2 separate regions of the Homo sapiens genome follow, and region 1 is linked to region 2. Evidence: promoter capture Hi-C in 16 types of primary human blood cells and fetal thymus (Javierre and others, 2016). All regions are on one chromosome and are shown on one strand. The core of a region is centred on a gene start or on the middle of the fragment in contact, and the rest is flanking DNA. Distances in the headings are between cores, read along the strand shown.

The links. Contacts are between HindIII fragments. The CHiCAGO score rates a contact against its expected background, and 5 or more counts as called.
Region 1: a fragment that was not itself captured here is called in contact with the fragment with the promoter of RHPN1-AS1 in region 2 in 1 of 17 cell types (activated CD4 T cells); the score reaches 6.0 in activated CD4 T cells.

What each region holds. Positions count from the first base shown.
Region 1 is chr8:143,904,190-143,908,584 of GRCh38, forward strand. No RefSeq gene overlaps it. Among named protein-coding and RNA genes, the nearest start is that of EPPK1, 28 kb to the left of the region's middle. The HindIII fragment of the contact is 4,462 bases long and covers 1-3,915 here.
Region 2 is chr8:143,366,613-143,370,795 of GRCh38, forward strand. It overlaps RHPN1-AS1 (RHPN1 antisense RNA 1), which reads right to left and starts at 2,023. Exons shown (of 1, transcript NR_026785.1): 1 at 11-2,023. It overlaps RHPN1 (rhophilin Rho GTPase binding protein 1), which reads left to right and starts at 2,264. Exons shown (of 15, transcript NM_052924.3): 1 at 2,264-2,435. The coding sequence starts at 2,376. RefSeq lists enhancers at 1,222-1,777, 2,518-3,425, 3,426-4,183 and silencers at 1,941-2,010, 2,021-2,480, 2,681-2,730. The HindIII fragment of the contact is 29,655 bases long and covers 1-4,183 here.

The DNA.
Region 1 (4,395 bases), core at 435-2,934, 540 kb after region 2:
CCTGCCTGCATATGATCCAGTAGGGAGGGCAAGCTGGTCTGCCCCCGAGGCCCAGCCACCGTGCTGGGCTGTCCTGAGAGGCCCTGGAGGACAGGTGCGATGCTCGGTGGGCTGTCTCCACAATATACAAACATCAGTTGTATTTCATGCTAGCAGTAGGCAATCCAAACATGAGACTAAGCAAACAGCTCCACACACAATAGCACTGCAAATAATAAAATACTCAGGAATAAACGTAGCCAAAGAAAGTCAAGACTTGTATATTTAAGACTAGAAAACATTACTGAAGGAAATGAAGAGGACATGATTGAACGGAAAGTCATCTCAGCATCACTCCCCAAGCTGACCTGCAAATTCAGTGCAATCCCCATCACAATTCCACTGTCTCCTGCCTGGGGGCTGCCCCTCCCCATATCAGCCCTCTGCCCAGGACACAAGACTGCTGGGTGGCCTTGTGTGTGTGTTGGGGTGGGAGGGCTCCACTCCTGTCTGTGGCGTGCAGCCCTGCTCAATGCATTCCCAGCACTGAAGAACGGCCTCTCCCAGGGCCCAGCAGTTGGGGCAGCCTTCCTCCTGAGGTAGGAGGCAGGACTCAACTCCGGAGGTGGGGTTTGGACACTGGACCAAAGTGAGGATTAGCTAAAACAAGTGTCTTACAGGGAGGTGGAAGCACCTCCCTGTAAGACACGCCCACCAGTGTGCCATGTCATTTTACCATTCCGTGGTAACACCCAGAAGTTACTGCCCCTTTCCATGGCAACAACCAGACAAGCCAGAAGTTGCCACCCTCATCCTGGAAATTTCTGCATAAACCGCCCCTTAATTTGCATGTAAGTAAAAGTGGGCAGGCTGGATGCCCTGGTTCATCCCTGTATTCCCAGCACTTTGTGAGTCCGAGGTAGGAGGATCACCTCGGCCCAGGAGTTCAAGGCTGCGGTGAGCCCTGATGGCGCCACCAGACTCCAGCTTGGGTGACAGAGCAAGACCCTGTCTCAAAAAAAAAAAAATTTGGGGTATAAATTTGACTTCAGCCCTGCCTCAGCTGCGACTCTGGGTGCACTGCCTGTCGGGTGGTCCCTGTTCTCAAGGAGCAGCCCCTTTGCTGCAGGTCTGGTTGGCCACTTAGTAACAGTTGCTGTCTAGGCTGGGTGCAGGGGCTCACTCCTGGAATCCCAGCACTTTGGGAGGCCAATGTGGGCGGATTGCTTGAGCCCAGGAGTTCAAGACCCGCCTGGGCAACATGGCAAAACCCCGTCTTTACAACAAAAAAATACAAAAATTAGCTGGGTGTGGTGGCACACGTCTGTAGTCCCAGCTACTCGGGAGACTGAGACAGGAGGATTGCTTGAGCCCAGGAGGTCAAGGCTGCAATGAGCTATGATGGCACCACTGTGCTCCAGCCTGGGCGACAGAGAAAGATCCTGTCTCAAAAAATTAAAAGTTGCTGTCTAACACACCGGCTCGTCCTTGAATTCTTTCCCAGGCTCAGCCTCAATTTTGGGGCTCACCTGTCTGGCATCGCTGCTGCTTCTGGAATGTTCAGGAGCCCACATGTTTCCTGATTGGGGTCAGCCATTTTGATGATGAAATTTGTAATATTAAGTTGTTTCGTTGGGACTTTTCAGAACCAGGTGAATACACAGCAGATAAAACACCTTGGAGGCTGGGCGTGGTGGCTCGCACCTGTAATCCCAGCACTTTGGGAGGCTGAGGCGGGTGGATCACCTGAGGTTGGGAGTTCGAGACCAGCCTGACCAACATGGTGAAACCCTGTCTCTACTAAAAATACAAAATTAGCCGGGTGTGGTGGCTCATGCCTGTATTCCCAGCTACTGGGGAGGCTGAGGCAGGAGAATCGCTTGAACCCGGGAGGCGGAAGTGAAACTCTGTCTCAAAACACACACACACACACACACACACACACACACCTTGGAAATGGAGAAACCTGTTCTACCGTAACGGGAAGCAGCAGCCCTCTACCAGGATCTGCCTGAGGTAGCAAGTGCCGGCAGGTCCAGCGACCTGCAGGGCCACCCTCCTTCCCGCTGCCACCCCCCGCCCATGCCGCGGTGAATGGCTTCTTTGTTAGCATTCCTCAGCCACCCTGTTTCCTGTTGGGACTCCACGGACAGACACACTGCGTCTCCATTCTTTGAATAGTTGCTCTTACATTTTCAACATGGATATTTGACAAAGTCCAGAGTCCCAATCAAAATCTCTACCCTCTTCCTGAAAAATACAAAGGCAGTAAAAGTTTTTTTTTTTTTTGAGACTGAGTTTCAGTCTTATTGCCCAGGCTGGAGTGCAATGGCGTGATCTCAGCTCACTGCAACCTCTGCCTCCTGAGTTTAAGCGATTCTCCTGCCTCAGCCTCCCGAGTAGCTGGGACTACAGGCGTGCACCACCACGCCCAGCTAACTTTGTATTTTAGTACAGATGGGGTTTCGTCATGTTGGCCTGGTTGGTCTTGAACTCCTGACCTCAGGAGCCCCAAAGTGCTGGGATTACAGGCGTGAGCCACGGTGCCCAGCCTGCATCTGCTAAACTCTTTTCCAGGTGGTTGAAGCACTGGTATTTCCATCAGCTCAGTGTGAGAGCTCTGGTTGCTGTACCTCCCATCAACATTTGACATGTTTAGTCTTTTTAAATTTTCAGGCATTCTAGTGGGTGCATGATGGTGTCTCACTGTAATTTTAATTTCTATCTTCCTAATGACTAATGTTCTTGCATCTTTTTATGTGCTGTTCGCCATCCATATATCTTCACTGGTGAAAGGTCTGTTGAAATCTTTTGTCTATTTCTAAATTGGATTATTTCTGTTTATTGAGTGCTGGGGGTTCTTTGTATATTCTGGATACAAGTCCTTTATCAGTTATGTGATTTACAAGTATTATTCCCAGTCTGTGGCTTGTCTTTTTATTTTCTTAACAGTGTATTTTAAAGGGCATAAGTTCCTAATTTTGATGAAGTCCAATTTATCGATCTCTTTCTTCTATAGATCATAATTTTAGTGTTATATTTCAGAAATATAACTCAAAAATGACAAAGATTTTTCTCTTACATTTTCCTTTAGATGGTTTATCATTTTAGATTCCAGTTGTGATCCATTTTGGGATAATTTTTGCACATGGTGTGAGATTAATTTTTTGCATATAGATGGTGAAAAGATCATTATTTTTTCACTGAAGTTCTTCTGTACCTTTACTTAAAATCAAATGACAATAGATGCATGGGTCTATTTCTGGACTCGGTTGATCTATATTTCTGTGTTAATATCAATACCTCGCTGTCTTGATTACAATAGACTTGCAACAGCCCTTCAAGTCAGATGGTGGACGTCCCCTCAATTCACTTTTCTTTTTCAAGGTTGTTTCAGCTGCTCTTGGTCCTTTGCATTTCCATATTAATTTTAGAATCAGTTTGTCAATTTCCACACACAAAAAAACCTACTGGAATTCTGATTGGGTAGCACTGACCTGTAGTTCAAGTTGGAGAGCATATCTCAGCAATATCGAGTCTTCCAGTACATGAACAAGGTCTGTCTCTACATGGACTTAGGAGTTTAATTTCTCTCATCAATGTTTGGCAGTGTTCAGTGTTCAGGTCTTGCACATCTTATCAGAATTATTCATATTTCACATTTTTGATGCTATTTTAAGTAATGTTTTAAATTTCACTTTATAATTGTCCATTATTAGAACATAGACGTACAGCTGATTTTTATATCTTGATCTTGTTTCCCACAGTCTGGCTAAACTCAATAGTTCTAGTTGTTTTTCTGTAGATTCTATCAGATTTTCTACATGGGTAATCATGTCAATGGCAAATAAAGACAGTTTTACTTCTTCCTTTTCAATATGGATGCCATTTGTTTGTTTATTATTTATCTATCTTTTCTTTTTGCCACTGGCTAGAAGCTTCAATACAATGTTGCCCTTTTTCCTGATCTTAAGGGAAAGCATTTGGTTTTTCATCATTAAATATGATGTTAGCTGTAGATTTTTCATAGATGCCCTTTATCCGGTTGAGGAGGTTCTCTCTTCTTCAATTTCTTGGAAGCGTTTTTACAGAATTGTTATTGTTTTTCCTTAAATGGGACATTGAGTTTGCAGTAAGCCATGATGGTCCACGGCAGTCCAGCCTGGATGACAGACGGAGACCCTATCTCTTAAAAAAAAATGCAGGTTCGGGCCGGGTGCGGTGGCTCAGGCCTGTAATCCCAGCACTTTGGGAGGCTAAGGCGGGCGGATCATGAGGTCAGGAGTTCCAGACCAGCCTGGCCAACATGGTGAAACCCCATCTCTACTAAAATTACAAAAATAAGTCGGGCATGGTGGTGGGCACCTGCAATCCCAGCTACTCGGCAGGCTGAGGCACAAGAATTGCTTGAACCCG
Region 2 (4,183 bases), core at 773-3,272:
AGACTCCATCTCAATAAATAAATAAAGAAAATAGTAATTGAATATTTTCCTTCAGGAAACAGCACCCTGCAGGGAGGGGAAGTCTTATGACCCTCAAAGTTTGAGAGCCTCTCTTAACTTCCCAATGGCCTCTGTCTGCTGAACCAAGAAGCCTGCAAAACAAATACGTAAGAACTGGATACCATTTCAGTCACACATGCTTGCTGACAGTCACTGATATGGTAATGCCTCCTGTACACATAGCTGACTCTGAAGACTGCTAAGAGGGTTTGGGTCTCTGCTGTACAGGACCTTGGCAGCCTGCAAGGAGATGACTCACATGGAAGTCCCCACACAAGTGCACCCAGTGTGAACTTTGGAAGCATCGGCCCATGCTCAGGCCCACAGGTAAGATGGCCAGGAGCCCCTAACCTTGAGGAAACTTGAACCACAGAGCTGCTGGCGAAGGGGGTGGGTGAAGGTCTCATGTAGCCTGTGTGATTCAGGCAGAAGTGAGAAGGACGGGTGGGAACCCACCAAGTGGACGACAAGCTGAAGGGCTCCCAGGGAGCAGACACTTCAAGGGCCCCAAAAGGCCAGGAGAAAGAAAAAAAAAAGCCGGGTATGGTGGCTCATCCCTGTAATCCAGCACTTTTGGGAGGTTGAGGCAGATGAATTGCTTGAGCCCAGAAGTTTGAGACCAGCCTGGGCCTGGGCAATGTGGCGAAACCCTGTCTCTACAAAATATACAAAAATTAGCCGGGTGTGGTGGTGCAAGCCTGTAGTCCCAGCTATTCAGGAGGCTGAGGTGGGAGGATCACATGAGCCCAGGAGGTGGAGGCTGCAGTGAGCTGTGATCGTACCACTGCACTCCGGCCTGGGGAACAGAGTGAGGCCCTGTCTCAAAAGGCCAGGAGTGGAAGACAGGCCCTAGCCAGGAGGTTTCGCGTGGCTGGCAGGGGCCTTATGAGAAGGCTGTTGCTGGGAGGGGCCTGCTGCAGATGGCTGCGGCAGACCACGGAGCTTAGCCTTCAGGATTTAGATCTGGGGATGACAGGCTCCTGTGTGCTTGTTGCGGAGCCGGGAGCACAGGCACCAGAATGATCCCAGGGCTCAGCTCCAAGGCTCCGCTGGGCCTGTGGTGGGGCAGTGAACGTGGACAAGACCTGGGCTTCAGAGGAACTTGATGACCAGGAGCCGTGGTTACCGCCTGTGCCCTGGCCTTCCTGCTCTTCAAAGGGTGTGTTCTGAGCTGAGGCGAGACCCACACGAAATCCGAGCGGGCTCCGGAGTCACCAGACACCTAGGGAAGTATGGAAGGCCCGGAAGGACACACACAGCCGGGTGAGCCCCGCAGGGAGCTGTGCAGTCTCAGGTCGTCCAGTCCTGGGGCTGCAGGCCAGTTCTCCAAGCAGGTGGTCCTGGAGGCAAGCTGGTTTTGAAAGTAGGTTCTGAAAATAGGTCAGTCCAGGAAACAAGCTCTGGAAGTAAAGAGATTCGGAAAGCAGGTTCGTTCTGGAAACAAGTTCTACAAACAGGTAGTTCTGAAAGCACGTGGGTTCCAGAGGCAGGTGCTAGAAGGATGTGGGTTCTGTACGGAGGTTCTGGAGGGAGGCGGGTTCTGGACGGAGGTTCTGGAAGGAGGCGGGTTCTGGAGGCCGGTTTTGGAAGCAGGACGACACCGACAGAGGCGCCTCGGACTGGGGCCAGGCCTGGAGCCTCCGCTCCGCGGGCAGAGAGAAGAAAGCAGGCATTGTCGGAGGACTCACACAAGCACTTGTCCCTAACAAAACCGTTTTTAAAAACCCCATTGTGAACATTTTTGGAACAAGCCTCTTAGAGGGTCCCGTTGCCGGGGTGACAGGACGAAACGGCGCGAGCGGGCAGACTCCTGGAGTCCCCGCAAAGGGAGCCGAGGAGCTAGGCGCGCCGAGTCCAGGTCCGCCCTGACTCTCAGCTTGGGACGTTCCGTATAGTTTTTTTCTCCGTTTCCCGAACTTCTCCCGCACGCTCAGCGGCCGCCGCGGCGCATGCGCAGTACAACCTGCCAGCCAGCCGCGGGCGTTCCGGCCGCGGTTGCCAGGGGTTACCGTCCCGCGGGCGGGCGGAGCTGGCCGTCCAGAGCCCGCCTTCCTGGAACTCTGGTTGGCTGATATAGCTGTCCGTCGAAGCGGCATTGCCGCCTATTGGGCAATGGCCAGCTTCGCACGCCAGACCCGTGCCCCGCCCAGCCGCGCCGCGGGCCGCCCCCACTCAGGAGGGACAGTCGGGGACCGGCGCGGGCACTCAGGAGCCCGCGGCCCAGGTGGTGCGGGCGGCCCTAGCCCGGCTGCGGAGCGCTGCGCGAGCGGCGGGCTGGCTGACCCCGAGGGACCCCCAGCGCAGCGGGTGCGGCGATGATCCTGGAGGAGAGGCCGGACGGCGCGGGCGCCGGCGAGGAGAGCCCGCGGCTGCAGGTGCGCAGAACTGGCGCGGCGGCGGGAGGAGGGGCCCGGAATCCCGGCCTTTTCCTGCCCCCCCTCGAGGCGCGTTCCGGGCGCCCCCCTCCTACGTCTCATTCGGCCCGGACGCAGGCAGGGAAACTGAGGCCAGAGCCTGCGTCCCTCCTCCTCTGAGCTCGGTGGAGGTGCTTCCAGGCCACTCATGTGAGCCGGGAAATGCGGACAGCCAAAGTCTGGATCATCCTCACCGCTGAAGCGGGTTGGGGGGACGCCCTCCTCGTGTCCCCCTTCTGGGCGGATGTGGGGCTGGGCTCTGTGAGCGCCCTCCCCACACCCGCCATCGTGTTCCTTTCCGGCACCTGTACAGCCTCCTTCCCTAGTTCGGTCCTCCCTCTGCATCCGCTCAGGAACTGCATGCCCATTGGGTGCACTGGTAGCAGCGGGCAGCGAAGCCTCCTGGGTATGGGAAACCGAGAGAGGTCTTCCCGGCTGGCCTCTTCTCACTTCCCAAACCTCCTTCCCTTCTGAAGTCCCTAACCCGGGGTGCTGACTGGGCAAGTGGGAGGGGTGGGCAGGGCTGTGGAGACCTGCTGAGTCTGTGCCTGGGAAGGAGGGGACGTCTGTGGGCCTTGCTCTGCAGCCCAGAGCCTGCTTGTTCCCTGCGGACCAGCTCGAGGCTGCCCCAGTCCTCCTGCCAGGCCCTGGGCGCCCACGCCCGCCACGGGCTTTCAGCCGCGGGCTGCTCCTGCTCCTCGCCCCGGGTGAGCCTTTGATAGCGCGCGGCCCTCCTCCCCTCTGGGACGTCAGACTGTGTTGTCCCTGGGCTGGTTCTACTCGGCTTTGGTGTTTGGGGTTAGGTCTCCTAGAGGAGGAGGCGGTGCTATCAGCCAGGGTTTGGCTTCAGGTCACTGGGCTGGTGATGCTGACCGTAGCCCTCAAGGACGCCCTTCTTGCCCACCCCGAGGCGTGCCAGAGGCTGCAGCACCTCCTGGGCACTGGAGGGAAAGAGGCAGCCTGTGCCTGCCCCCTATGAACTTGCTCTGTCAGGGCGGCCATGCCTGCAGGTGGCCTGGGACGGCACATGTTGTTTTGGGTGGAATGTTTGGGAGGCTGTACAAACAAGATGTCCCAGAGGGCTCCGGAGGTGACGCTTTTCAGGCTGGGGGCTGTGCCTGGGCTCCCTGTCCTGGCCCTCCCTGGGCTGCCACCTTGGAAAGTTGGGGAGAAGCTGTTTCCAGGCTGCCGTGTCTCTCACAGCGTCCAGAAATGACCCCACAGTCAGGGTACTGGGGAGGGGCCCGTGGGAGGTGGCAGTGGGGCGGAGGCAGGCCCTGTGTCACACGCGCACCACTCAGGCTGTCCTGCCATCTGGAAAGTCTTCCCCGATGCCTGCTGCCGGGCTAGAGTGAGGCCTGTTCCACCCCCATCAGGCTGGCCCCCAAACTGGCCCTAAAGCTCAGAGTTCAGTGGGTCAGGGGTCGGTCGTTCATCCACTTAGAGGCCACACCTGGGCCTGAGGCCCTGTGGACAGGTCTGGGTGACTTGTATTTGCCCCAGGCGTGATGAGAGCAGGCTTCCAGCAAGCGCTTACCTGGTGCCAGGGCCAGTGCTACAGCTGGAGTCCTGCCATTGGTGCCTCCCAAGCCCTGGGCCTCAGCCCGTCTGATGAACAGGGTGAGTAAGTGGCCAAGGCTGCCAAGCTGGGAAGGGGAGAAGCCTGGCACGGCCCAGGGTGGCCAACCCAGCTGCCGTCCCTCCCGCAG